Linked DNA regions of Homo sapiens: region 1 is linked to region 2. Evidence: promoter capture Hi-C in human tissues and cell types (Jung and others, 2019). All regions are on one chromosome and are shown on one strand. Each heading gives the region's core, a stretch centred on a gene start or on the middle of the fragment in contact. The rest is flanking DNA. Distances are from core to core; before and after follow the strand shown. Region 1 overlaps MIR4500HG (MIR4500 host gene). Region 2 holds the start of SLITRK5 (SLIT and NTRK like family member 5).

The links. The method cuts DNA at HindIII sites, captures the fragments that hold promoters and counts their contacts. A contact is called where the count stands out against the background at its distance.
Region 1: a fragment that was not itself captured here is called in contact with the fragment with the promoter of SLITRK5 in region 2 in 2 of the 25 tissues and cell types used here (heart left ventricle and heart right ventricle).

Annotation. Positions count from the first base shown.
Region 1 is chr13:87,579,270-87,585,588 of GRCh38, reverse strand. All of the region lies in intron 1 of MIR4500HG (MIR4500 host gene), which reads left to right. Among named protein-coding and RNA genes, the nearest start is that of MIR4500, 36 kb to the left of the region's middle. The HindIII fragment of the contact is 3,134 bases long and covers 3,303-6,319 here.
Region 2 is chr13:87,669,747-87,676,343 of GRCh38, reverse strand. SLITRK5 (SLIT and NTRK like family member 5) reads right to left here and starts at 4,973. Exons shown (of 2, transcript NM_001384609.1): 1 at 4,135-4,973; 2 at 1-963. The coding sequence starts at 955. LOC124900338 (formin-like protein 5) reads left to right here and starts at 3,977. Exons shown (of 2, transcript XM_047430855.1): 1 at 3,977-5,508. The coding sequence starts at 4,039. The coding sequence ends at 4,563. It overlaps MIR4500HG (MIR4500 host gene), which reads left to right and starts at 5,381. Exons shown (of 6, transcript NR_033829.1): 1 at 5,381-5,508. RefSeq lists enhancers at 1,121-2,320, 4,745-5,246. The HindIII fragment of the contact is 26,915 bases long and covers 1-6,597 here.

The DNA.
Region 1 (6,319 bases), core at 3,620-6,119, 91 kb after region 2:
TACTTTATATATTAAATTTATAGGTGGTGCCCTACTAGGTTTTGAGAAGGCAAATGTGCTTCGGATGTTTCTTTTAGGAGAATCACATCTATATTGTGGAGGGCAGTTGCAAAATAGTGGAGAAGGAGAAGGCCTTTACAACAAGCTAAGTTGTGGATAGTTAGGGCTTGATATAGAGAACTAGGAATTAATAAGTGATGAAAATGAGCAAAATCTAAGAGTCTGAGTCCACAGAAATTGGCATCTTTTGAGTGTGAAGAGTGATGGATATGATGAAAGGTGAAAGGTTACTTTCCTCCCAAAAATTTCACCATTTATTTTCTTCTGGAAGAATAAAATAAGATATTGCTGTTCAATGGGAGTCAAGGCAAAGTAGAAGAAGACAGGACTATGTTTTTACAAATGTTCCTGGCAGCTGCTTTTCACATTCTTTTTTCTGATGTGCTCACTACGTATGCGCTCAAAACAAAAATTAGTTAAATTTTTTTCTCCTTCTCTTTGTGCTTAGTCTCTGTTCATCATGAGAAATGCTCAGCGACTGCAGACATAAAGAGAAAGCTTTCAATTAAAGTTTCAATGATGGGATAGGAACTGAGAAGTCTGTGGAGTTTTCTGCCTAGGAGTACCCTTGGAAAAGCCACTGCTATGCCCAACCAGCACTGGGAATCCCAGATCACATGCAATCATAGGAGTTGCCCTGGAGGCAGAAGCTCAGCACATGTTCTGGTACAAGGAGATTACAGTGTTGTGCAAAGCAAAGGGATGAATGATGCCCAACTCTCTAACATGGGCCTCGGTTTCCACATCGAGGTTGGAAATGAGCTAGGAAGCAGATCCACCATAAATGGAGAAAGAAGAGAAACAAGTTGAGCTTTTAATGACCCCGTAGCCTGACTCTTTGGTATGGAAATGGAAAGAGATCCTCATGGAAACATAAATAAAATATATCACATGTAACTTATACCAATAATTATTTTCTCCCCCAGTACCTCAATTTTGCCCAGATTGGACTCTATTTTATTTCCTTATTTTTCCACAGTAATTTACTTAAGTAAAACCAGGATTTATTTTATTCATCTCCATGTCAGTTGCTAAGTCCAAGGGATGTATATAGTTTAAAAAATATCACAAAGGATGATATGGTGAAATTGAACAACACATTATTACCTGATGTACAGTCATTGATTTTGTATACTAGCCTTTACCCCTGGCTACTGATAATTTTGGATTTTGAAGATTCAAAGACAGAGACTTGTAAATACTTTAGTTTTTACACTTCTTTATCATACTCATACCTGGGATGGAAAAGTATCATTTAATATATTAAGAACATTGTTATAGTACATGTATTTAAATAACTCACAAGAGCAAGTAATCTTACCTCATGTCATCTATTTTTGAAAAAATATTTTGTGTATTTCCACATGCTTCTTCCAGATGACCTTTAGCAAAACTTTGTGAAGTTTCATTGTGGCTGTTGTCTTAGAAAGATGGTCTTGTTAATAAGGTCAGTGTTTTAGCCTTGCAATATAAGATTATGTGCATTTGTTTAGAGGGAGACTTTAGGATACAGCGAAGTGTTTTACAAATGTTTACCATTTTTATTCTTATTAGATTTTTGAAAGTATTTGGTTTAAAATTTTCTTCTTTTTATTCAACCAGCTCTTTAAATTACCCATCAATTCTTGTTAAGAGTGTGTATTGTATATCTCTCTATACATTTCATGTATTTTTGTATGAATTGTGCTATTTTTATAATTTTTCTATTTAGCCTCTGTATCCAATATGATTCAATGTATACATGGATGCCATACGTAGGTACTGATTATTTCCTCTTTTATTATTAATAAATTCTAATTTATTTCAATGTGTTATCTCTGTAATACATAATATTCTAGACAATATTGACTCCATTTTTTATGTTTTAGAATTCCTAAATTATAATTGCACATAAATTAATATTTTAATTGTCTTGATGGACACAGTGTTCTTTTACTATGCATTGTAATATTTATCATCCAAGCTATACTTTCAAATGTGTTTTATTCTCCTCCATTTTATATCTCAGTGAAGGTGTCCCTCCTAAACTTAGCTATTAAATGAAATAAATAAACTATGAATCATTCCACACTCTCTTTCTCCATTAAGCCATGCTGATTTTCCTCCTCAATGGTTCTTAAATTCAGTCTTTATTTTTCTTTCCCACACTTTTGTTCAGGGCAGATGCTTATCATTGTCTTTCCTGGATTGCTGGCTTAATCTCTTGATTCTTTTTCTTCTCTCATGTCCTGCCAGACTCATACCTGTCCTCTAGCCTGTGGCCAGAGTGCCTCAACTGAACATGCTACTCAATTTCTGAGAAATATTTTTTAAAACCTATCTATCAATGACTCTCCCTTTCTTGATTCAACATTCTTCACAAAGGGGTGACAAGTGTGATTAGATATTGATGTCCTCCCCTCTCAGGGCCACAGCAAGGGTCCCATGGTTGCTGTAGTGCCTCAGCTAAGAAAAGCTTAGTGCTTACCTTAGTGCATTATGCAAGCTTCCTAACTTTCTGAAGATTGCTTGACATGGATAAATGTGGAAAGCATTAAATTAGAACATTAAAAGTCCTTTTAATGACATAGAAATCTTTCTAGACTAGGAAGCGCAGCTAAACTATATAATATCCTTGTGCAAATCTGTAAAAAGGTATCATTTAGCCTCAACAGATGATTTTTAAAAGATGCCACAAGTAGACATCGGTATATTTGATAGTACCTTTTTGGAAAGAAAGAAAGAAAGAAAGAAAGAAAGAGAGAAAGAGAGAAAGAAGAAAGAGAGAAAGAAAGGAAGGAAGGAAGGAAAGAAAGAGAAAGAAAAAGAAAGAGAAAGAAAGAAAAGAAAGGAAAGAAAAAGAAGAAAGGAAAGTAAAAGAAAAAGAGAGGAAGGAAAGGGAAGGGAAGGGAGGAAGAGAGAGAGGAAGAAAGAGAAAGAGAAGAAAGAAAAAAAGAAAAAGAAAGAAACAAAGAAAGAAGAGAGAAAGAGAAAGAAAGAGAAAGAAAAAAAAGAAAGAGAAAGAAAAGAAAAAGAAAAGAGAAAAGGAAAGAGAATTACATATTACTTCTCTGGGCCAGATTCAGCCCTCTGTTAAGTTCCAGGAATTGGGCCAGTTTTACAAACTGCATAACCATGAGCAGAGGCCAAACTCCCATTACCTGATCTCTTGGTGTATCGCCTTTCTTTGAGGTATTCATCATGCTGTTTTAAAATTATGTCTTTTCTCTTTTTGTCATCACTGATTTAGAAAAACCTTACTCTGTTTCCTTACCTATCCACACTTTCTATTCGTGTTACTTTTTCCTCCAGCCCAATCTTGCTTCCATCAAATTTAATGTGTAATACTATCATAGCCATTATCATGCTATTTTCTGTATATAGTGTTTGTGTTTTCCAAGGGGTGAAAACACTGTAAAGTTACACTACTTCTCAATCCAGCAAATTTACTGTTAGTTATCTACCTAAGATAAATGAAAACATATATCCACACACACTGGCCCTACAGTGGAAACAATCTAATCATGTGTCACCTGGTGAATGAATTCACAAAATTAGAGAACTCTTATGTATGAAGCTATGTACCTGATTTTCTTACCTAAGTTATTTGAAAGCACAAACACACTTTTTTGTGTATATTTTAGTTGCGTGCCATGCCTGGCTCAGAGCTTTGCCTGAAAAAGGCCCTTGATAAATGGTGGATGAATGAATAAATGCATTAAAAAAAACCATCTATCCATATGATAGAATACCACTTAGCTATAAAAAAGAACAAACTGTAGATACATACTACTATGTGGATGAACCTCATAGTTTTATACACACTGAAAGAAGCCAGGTACCAGAAACCACATACTGTAAGATTCCATTTATACAAAATGTCCAGAAAAGACAAATCTTTAGAGATAGACTGGTGAATGACTTGAACTGTGGAGAGGGACAGCGACAGTTAATGTGCATATAGTATCTCAGTGAAGTGATGAAACATTCAAAAACTGATTTATGGCAATGGTTTCAAAGCTTGGTAAATTTACTAAAATATCATTGAATTCTACACTTGAAATGGATGAATTATATGATATGTAAAAGATGCCTCAGTTAAGTTACTTTTTGAAACTTAGATTACTTGTCTTTTCCTTATTGAGGTTTGAACCAGCAGCCCAAGATCTGGCCTATGGACGTTTTGATGCTCATATCTCTACCATTCTGTACTCAACATTTTCCCCTATTTTAACAAAAGCATTAGTTATTACTCATTTGTTTATAATAAGAATATAGAGGCCTTATTTCCAATTTGATAGATATTTTGGTTACTATTAAAAAGTCAGACATGATTGTAATATAGTTGCATAAATACAGTATTTTTTTTAACTAGTCACAATTCATTTCATGTTTTCCCGTTGTTGAAAAAAAGTTTTTTTGGGGCAATCCCTAAAATAAAAGATTCTGTAATAAAATGAAGTTTGCAAAATTGCATGATACGGTCCTTTCTTGAAAGATTCATAACAGGGACTAGGGTATATTTTTAGGAATCTTGAGTCTGAAGCTTTAAATTTCTTTCTTGTTTGACTGTTGCTATGATAATGCTACATTTTTAAGAGTCAAAATTATAGTAGTGCAAAATAATATACATGAATTTTTCAAGCACAGATCTGAAGACCCATTAGATGTGGATATAGTTGCTTTTTATACATCATTCATTCCTGGACCTGAGTGAAGGGACAGATCAACCTGGGGCAGGATCTCTTCCTGGTGAATAAAAGGAGACAAGAGACCATAATACACCACACATATGAAACTTTTGCTTGGATGTGGCATATATTATGTTCATGAATGAGAGCCGTAAATCAAAGATATGAGGAACTATATCTTACCCAGAGTGACGTCACAGCAAGGGAGGGAATGAAAGAAAGATATGTGGCTTTCTATTTGGAGTTTGCTTACTTTTAAATGGATCTCACTACCCTCTTTTTCACAATAAATTTTTGAATCCTAGATTCATGGATTATATTTTGAGAAACAATGATAATGTGAAATTGTAATTCTTATCTCTGAATGCGTATTAAAATCACATGTAGTGTTTTTAAAAATATTGATATCCACATTCCACCTACACCGATTGAAACAATCTTAAGGGAGTGGAATTCAGGCATTGGTATTTTAAAATTCCCTTCGTTTAATCTATGAATATATATGAAAAGGTTGAGAACTACTACTGTGGGGAAATGGAATGTGGCAGAATATTTTTCATATTCTTCATTTGAACGTTTCTAACTAGAATTCAATGTTTTTATATTCCCTAAGCTTAAGTTCATTTTACTTCAGGCATATCTGAATTTTAGTCTGTTAGTTACATACAGAGTAGTCATTACTGAAGTTTGATATGGAGCTTTATTTTAGCCTTATTGGGATTATATATTCCATTCTCCTTGGAGTGAGTCTGTAGAGAAGAACAGATTATAAATCGCTTTGTATAGCTTTCAGTGCCTTATATTTCTCTGGTATATTTCTACATGGAGGAGAGAATATATTTTAGGCCATAGATACACTATGATTAGGTATGTCTTCCAGGAGAAATAGGAAGCACAATATGGTTTCAATGATCTATATTTGCATAATTTAAAAAATGTATAGCCAAGGAATTACACCATTATTTCAGAAGTTCCAGAAGATGTTAAATTTTTGTAGCCCCAAACACTTCAATCACCCTATGGGAAACTCCTATTTTTTACAGTAAATTAAGCATCTATTTTTTGGCTTGAATATTTTATATATATTGCTTTTTAAATTAGCTTTCTAGCATTTTGACTATAAAACATTATTTAATAACCTACATTTAATAAGTCAGAAACATTCTGCTTATTTTTGTCACCTTTTTCACACTTATGATTTGAATCTTGGAGAATAATATGTAACATGGTGATTCAGAGTATAGGATAATAAGGAAATGAGAAGCCTAAATCATGTTAAAGCATATAAAGCAATACAAAGGGAAGAATCAATACAAAAGAAAAGCATAGTACATAAAGCAGGATGAAGTAATCGATAGCAGTGTATTGTAGCATACAATCGCAGATGATTACAGGTAAACCCACTTGAGTTATGTAGCGATGCTAAAGAGCTACAACAAATTTCCACTGCATGTTGGCATCAGACAAAGGATTAAGGGAATTCTGAACAACATTAGAAAAGTTTAACTATTACCAAAGAATATCAAAGCTCTAAAACTTTCTGAACATTTTTAAAAATAATATTTGAAAATAGTTTTGCTTTCAGGCCA
Region 2 (6,597 bases), core at 3,724-6,223:
AAGTGGCCACAGAATTCACTGACGCCGGGGTGGTGTGTAAATACCCCGTGGTGCTCAAAGGCGTCTGCGGCCTCATCTCGTAGTCAGAAATAAGTCTCCTTGGGCAAAGTTCCTGCTTGGATACCTCGTCCAAGTCCCTTCCGTGTAAGCGGAAGGGGGTCTCACAAACTACATCCCCCACCAGGGCTGAATAGGAGATGCTGTCCAACCAATCCTTTAGAGAGATCAGCTCACAAGAACAATTCCAAGGGTTTTCCTCCAGCTGTAGCTCCACAACTTTATCCATGTGCTGCAAGAGCCCCACGTAGGGCAGAAGTTTCAGCCGGTTCCCCCGGAGGTCCAAGTGCGTTAAGGGCACAAAACGGAAAAGATTGTTGGGTAAACTGGACAAAAGATTGTCATTGAGGATAAGCACCTGCAACAAATGCAGTTTCCCAAAAGCATTGGGTTCAATGACGCTGATGTAGTTGTAATCGACCTGTAGGTACTCCAGGTTCTCCAAGCCAAGGAAGGTATCATCTCGCAGAAGTTCCAGTTTATTATTGTTTAGATGCAATCTCCTCAAACCCCGTAGCCCATGGAAAGCCCCGGTCTCAATGTCCTGGATAACATTGCTACCTAGATGCAAAATTGAAGCCCCAGTGTAATTGACAAACTCATTGGGATAGAGACGGTTCAAAAGGTTTCCGGACAACAAGAGGTGGTAGATTGGGAAACGGGGAGGGCTAATTTCAGAGAGACTGATGATCCCCCGGTTTTCACAGCTCACAGTTAAAATGCCGTCCTTTTCCTCACAAGGACATGCATTGTCACAGATTTCCCCATAATAATCGATGGTTTCTGCACACGAAAGGACGAGAGATGTTACAGCAAACGCTAGAGTCTGCAGCATCCAGCTATGCATTTTTCTGTGAAGGTCCTGTTCCAAAGTTACTGGGGGGCAGCAAGTGTGCATTTTACCTCCTGTAAGGGAGAGAGAAAACAAGGAAATAACAGAATATGACAAAAATTTAAGGGATCAGTCAGAAAGTCTCTCTCTTTCTTAACATTATTACTCTAAAACCCAAAAGGAAGAGATACAAATGACACACCTCCCCAAGTGAAACATTGACATTCTCTAGATTTTATTAAAATCTATTATACATTTTGATTTAAAGGTTGATTAATTTTTTTAAATGAGCACACCACAAATATGCTGCTCCTTACAAGATAAGAGCAGGTTAGATAAAGTCCCATTTTAGTTTTCTCTTCTCCCCCCCTTTTCAAAACCAATCCATAAATATACATAAAATGGCTGTCAGTTCAGTTTCATGGTTCTAATTTAAGAAAAAAGAAGCACCATTTTACAAGGTTCCCCACCTCACCTATACCCAGCCCCCACCCCCCCTTCTTTCTTTCAGAGCCTCTTCAGTTAACAGTTCACCGTGAAGGTCTCTCATGTTCACAGAGAGGCAAGGAGCCAAAATACTTGGGGTATTTTAAACCATCGCTAGAAATGCCACGGTGGGAACCTAAAGGATACTTTTCAGAGGCAAAAAGGCTGTAATATAATGCATCAAAGGAGCCCCAAGAAGCTCTTAAATCACCAATTGTCTCCCGGAGCTTTGAGTAAGGAGAAAAAAGGAGAGCGCATTTGCTTTGATGGTGGACTTCACTACCACGCTATTAAAGCACATCAGCGTCCTAATTGCATGCACGGTACCACTTAGCAGCGCTTCCCGGAGAGCGCCCTGCGACCACTTCTCATTGATCATGTCAGCGACGCTACCAAACCGCATCTTTAAGCCACTGAAATAGTTCTGCACGATGGATTACAAAGAACTCAGCGAAGGTATCCGCAATCTCCGAATACCTCCCGATGCCTAGAGTTTAAAAAGGACGTTCCTACCGCTTACCGGGAATCAGTACACCAAGGATCAGCACGAAAGCCTCCCTTACCTTGGGCTCCGCGTCTATTTGCAACGGTAATAGCAAGGTTTGCACGGAACTACCACCTCGACAGCATCCCCATCTTTGGAGTTGCTTATTACATTTAATTGTTAACGCTCCCCTCTCTCTTTTTTTTAATCTCAGGGAAAGGACGCCTGGGCTGATTAAGAGGCAAAATAGAAAGGTGGGAGGAAGAACTGTAAGCGACTTAGGTCAGTTGTTTAATATCCGAATTTCATCTCCCACAGGAATCAATATGACCCCCTCCCCCTTTTTTTTCTTGCTCTCTTTTTGTCCCCTTGAAGGCTTCCTTCCACTTCCTACTTCTGATCAACAGCAGCACTCTTAAAGGAAGGACATAAATGGAATGAGCGTGTGTGTGTGTGTGTGTGTGTGTGTGTGTGTGTTTGTGTGTGCGCGCGCGCGCATGCTGCGTTGGTTAATGGGGTGGAGGACATTTGATAGAAATGCTGGACTCTAGGAACCTATGCCTTTTCTCTGGTCAACCTTGCCTTTGCCTCACTACCGAAGTCTAATATCGAATTGCAACTCCAAACTAAAGCCAAGATGTTTCCGAGACAGCGGGTTCAAGCCTGGAGACCTTGCTCCTGATCCCCAAGTCGACTCCAGCCCGCGTTATTAAACGCCCCTGCATTCAAACGCACATGTATCAGTGTGCCTGCGAATCATTCACGTGTGGCCACCCAGACGTGTCGAGATGAATTGGAACCACAGTGCATAAACCTCGCAAGTATCCCCGACCTCCCAACGCAACGGTAAACGTCTCCCGGCTTAAAAGCGGCAAAAACATCCCCACCCCAGTGAAAGCAAAACGTTTACCTTGAAATTTCAGTTCTCCGCTGGATCAAATCCGCACATCCATTCAGCGAGGTTGGGTCCCCTCCCCCTCCCTCCCTGTGCTTCCCCGCCCCCATTCACCTCCCACCCCATCTGAAAGCCCATTGCAAATTCAGTCCAGCCAGTATTAAACTCCAGCGTTTACAACTTTAATTCAGTTCTAGTTAGCAAGGGTCGAAGAGCTTCCTCTCAACCCACTCCCTTCCCCCTCCTCCTTGCTAGCAAAGGAGACCAAAAATTTGAGAAAATAAAGTTGAATGAGCCTGGGGAGGCTGACATTCTGACGGGGAAACGCACCTCCGATGCAAATTCGCGGGTGCGCTGAACATTCTCAGATTCTCAGATTTTTTTTTTTCCTGGAGGGCGGGGGCGGGGGAACTATTCATTTTCTCCCAAAGAATTTAGATACTGGATCACCGCCCTGTACGTCCCTGCAGTAAGCAGCATGGAGCCTCTCGGACTGGAGCCCAGCACCCAGGCCGCACCGGAGGCTCCGGGCACAGCTGCTCAAGCAGCAGCCCAGGCAGAAGCACCCGGAGTTCCAGGACGCGAGGCTCCCCCTCCCCCACCCCGCCCCAAAGAGAAGGAAGGGAAAACGGAGGAAGAAGGGGAGGGAGGAGAGGGAAGGAAAACCACCCCGCCACATAGACACACACACACACACACACACACACACACACACACACACACACACACACACACCTCTTTTGCAAAGTAAACGATAGACTTACCCAGTCTCACATCTCCAAGGCCCAGTCATCATAGCCACCCTTTAAAAACACACACATACACAAAAACCCTCTTTGGGGTATGCACTAGGTTTCTCAAGCCCAGGCAGGGCGAGGAGACTGCGAGCAGCGCAGTCCCAGAGGCTGGAGGAAAGAGGCGCCCGGACGCCTCCAGCCTGGGGCCGCCGCCGCGGTGGCGACCGCGGGTTCCGGGGCTCCCCAAAAGGCTCTCCCCGGTGCTCTCCGCGGTAGTCGGAGCGGGCAGCAGGGTTGGGGGGTGGAGAGCGGGGGGCGTTCTGCAGCGGCGGGATAGGGAGGCGGCGGGAGGGGGCGGCGGAGGTCCGGCTGGAGAGGCGCCTCGCGGTAGGGGCCGGGAGCCGGAGCCGGGCGGGGCGGGGAGGGGGAGCTGCTGGGAGGGGAGGCACGGAGCGGGAGGAGGGGGACGCGGAGAAGACTGCCTGGCCCCGCCGGCCCCGCCAACGTGACGGTCAGCCCCGCCGAGCGCTCGCACCCGCTCACACTCATGATCACTCGCACACTCGCTCCAATACGTGTTAAGGCGCGATCGCGGGGTCCCTGGCAGCCTTCGCTGCACCCTCCCCCCCACAGGGGTACTCACAGTTGCCATCTGCATAGGGGGCAACTTTCTCCGACCCAGCTGTGGCCGCCGCCCCCTCCAGCCTCCTCTGGCTCCTCGCACCCTCCGGCCTGGGTTCGCGCCGGCCGGCCCTCCCCTCCCCCCTCGGCTCTCCTCCTCGCCGTCTTCACCACATTCCCCCCTGGTCAGTGGCGCACGCCGGGGGACGAGCCAGAGGGAGCGGGTCGCGGGGGTGTGCATGCATCTCCCGCCTTCTTCTTGCAGCGCACACTGTACATGGTAGTGAGGGGGCGAGCAAAGGTGGCACCGGCCCCTCGGCTGCTCCAGCGAAGGCGGCGGCTGCAGCTCCTGCGCTGTCCTCCGCCCCCCAGCGCAGCGGCGACCACCGCGCTGGGATCCCGCCGACGCTGTCTCCGCGCCGAGCCCGCCGCCGCCGCGGCCCCTAATTAGTATTTGAGAGGCTCTTGCATCCCTTTGGCAGTTTCATCCTCACGGTGTTTGCAGGGTTTTTTTCTGTATCCCTTCCCCAGATGCGGCGCACAATCGTCATTAGTTGGAACTCTCTATCACCGACATCCTTTGGGGTTTCTGGGGGAAGGGGGGGGCGGGCAGCAACCGCGTCGTTCTATGCCTGTGGCTTGTCCTGGCAGCCCGGTGGCTCTAAAAAAAACTCCGAGAAAGTTGCGTCTTCCTCCCGGGCGCCGAGGAGGTGGCAACGCGGTAAGCAACACCGGGTCTCTGAGACAGCTGCTCCGGAGCGGGTGCAGGGCCCAGTCCAGTGCACTTGTTTATTGTCGCGCCTCTGGTGCGAGCCAAGCTGCAGCAGACATGATGGGCCCGGGGCGAAGCGGGCGCTCGGTGGCCGATAGATGGCAGCCGAGGGCGAAGGCGTCCCTGGGCTAGGGCGGCGCAACCGGGGCCCCCTTGGATGTCACATTCGTAGGAAGAGAGAGAAGTCTTGGACCATGTGTGTAATTCGAGCGTGGGACTGTGCAATTCTCGGATTGGGAAAGGGAGGAGTGGAAATAACCCCGGCAGTGCCAGGCTTGCTGGTGGTCAGGAACAGATGATTCCAGCCCTGTGCTGATCGCCTGCCTTCCTCCTGCCATTCAGAATGCTGCTGTCTCGTGTACTTACTGTTAAGGATCCTGGAAAAGGGAGTGGTTCCTCCTAGCTGCAAACAAGGGCGCTACTTTTCTTTTCTCTTTAATAGAATTACGTTTTATAGGTGTGTCTAGGCAACACAAGGGAATGTGAAAGACTTTCAGAGGGAATGTTTGTGAATACATCTGGTGTGTACTAAAAAGCTGGAAAACCCCTAAGTAAATGCAATATCGATAGAAAGCGAGTTTCTTGAAGAGTCATCTGCTAAACTCCACTAGAGTCATCTCTACAGTAAGTATTCTTGGGTCTTTCCATGAAACCAGACACTTCCATCCCCAAAAAGGGGTCTTTACTTTCATAAGACATGTTTTCAATATTTGTAATATTAGACCTGCCGTTCATCCCGGGTATAAGAGAAAAGTTGATAATAGTAAGTGACCCAGTGCAGGCTGAGTGCACATGTGCCTGTTCCTTTGATAACTATGTAGTTAGTTTCTCCATGTAAATATATTTTACCCACTTTATTTTGCAATTAATTACGTCTTAATTATTATTGATATTGTTTTATTCTTAGTAATATTTGGGATAATACTGTGTTATAATCTGGTTAATCATATGTTTAATATTGATATAGAGTCTGATAATATGTCTATGTTCTGAGATGTATATATATCTCAGGTGATGAACATTGCAGTCTCCTGAGGTACTGCAATCTTTTTTGAACTTTCCCCTGCGTATGTTGTGTGAATATATATATTTTTACTTTATACCATAAAAACTTTATTTGGAAGCAATTTTGTTTAAGTATGGGTTATATTCAAGGGAGAGGAAGGAAAGAAGTAATATGTAATTTCAGACAATAAAAACAAAATCTTGTAATGAACGTTTCATTAAATTTAGAAGCATTTGACCTAGGAATGATAGCCACTAGCTGTAGATACATTGCATCAACAAATATAACTTACACGTCATCCACAAAAGGCTTATTTCTGTATTTTTTATTCAGTCATTAACTTTTAACATTATATAAACATTTCAGAAAATTTATTTTAAGTTTAAAATTACTTTTATATTTTCAAAATGAAATGAAATATTTAAATTTAAAATTATATAGGAATTACAGCCAGAAGCCTTTGGAATATAAATATTGAGTCCTATCAGAAACATAATTTTCAATATCGATTAACTTTGTAGAAGTTCTTAAAGGTCCTAAATTGTCTTAATCGATTATTGATTTTTTCAAAATAGCTGAAATAAAGCTGTTATATTTTATCACTGTTCTAAATCTTTATAATTTCATTCAATAGCAAAGTTTAATTCATGGTTTTGTATTATTTTTATTTTAAATATTTATTGTTCTAATTAAAGGAAATATTATTC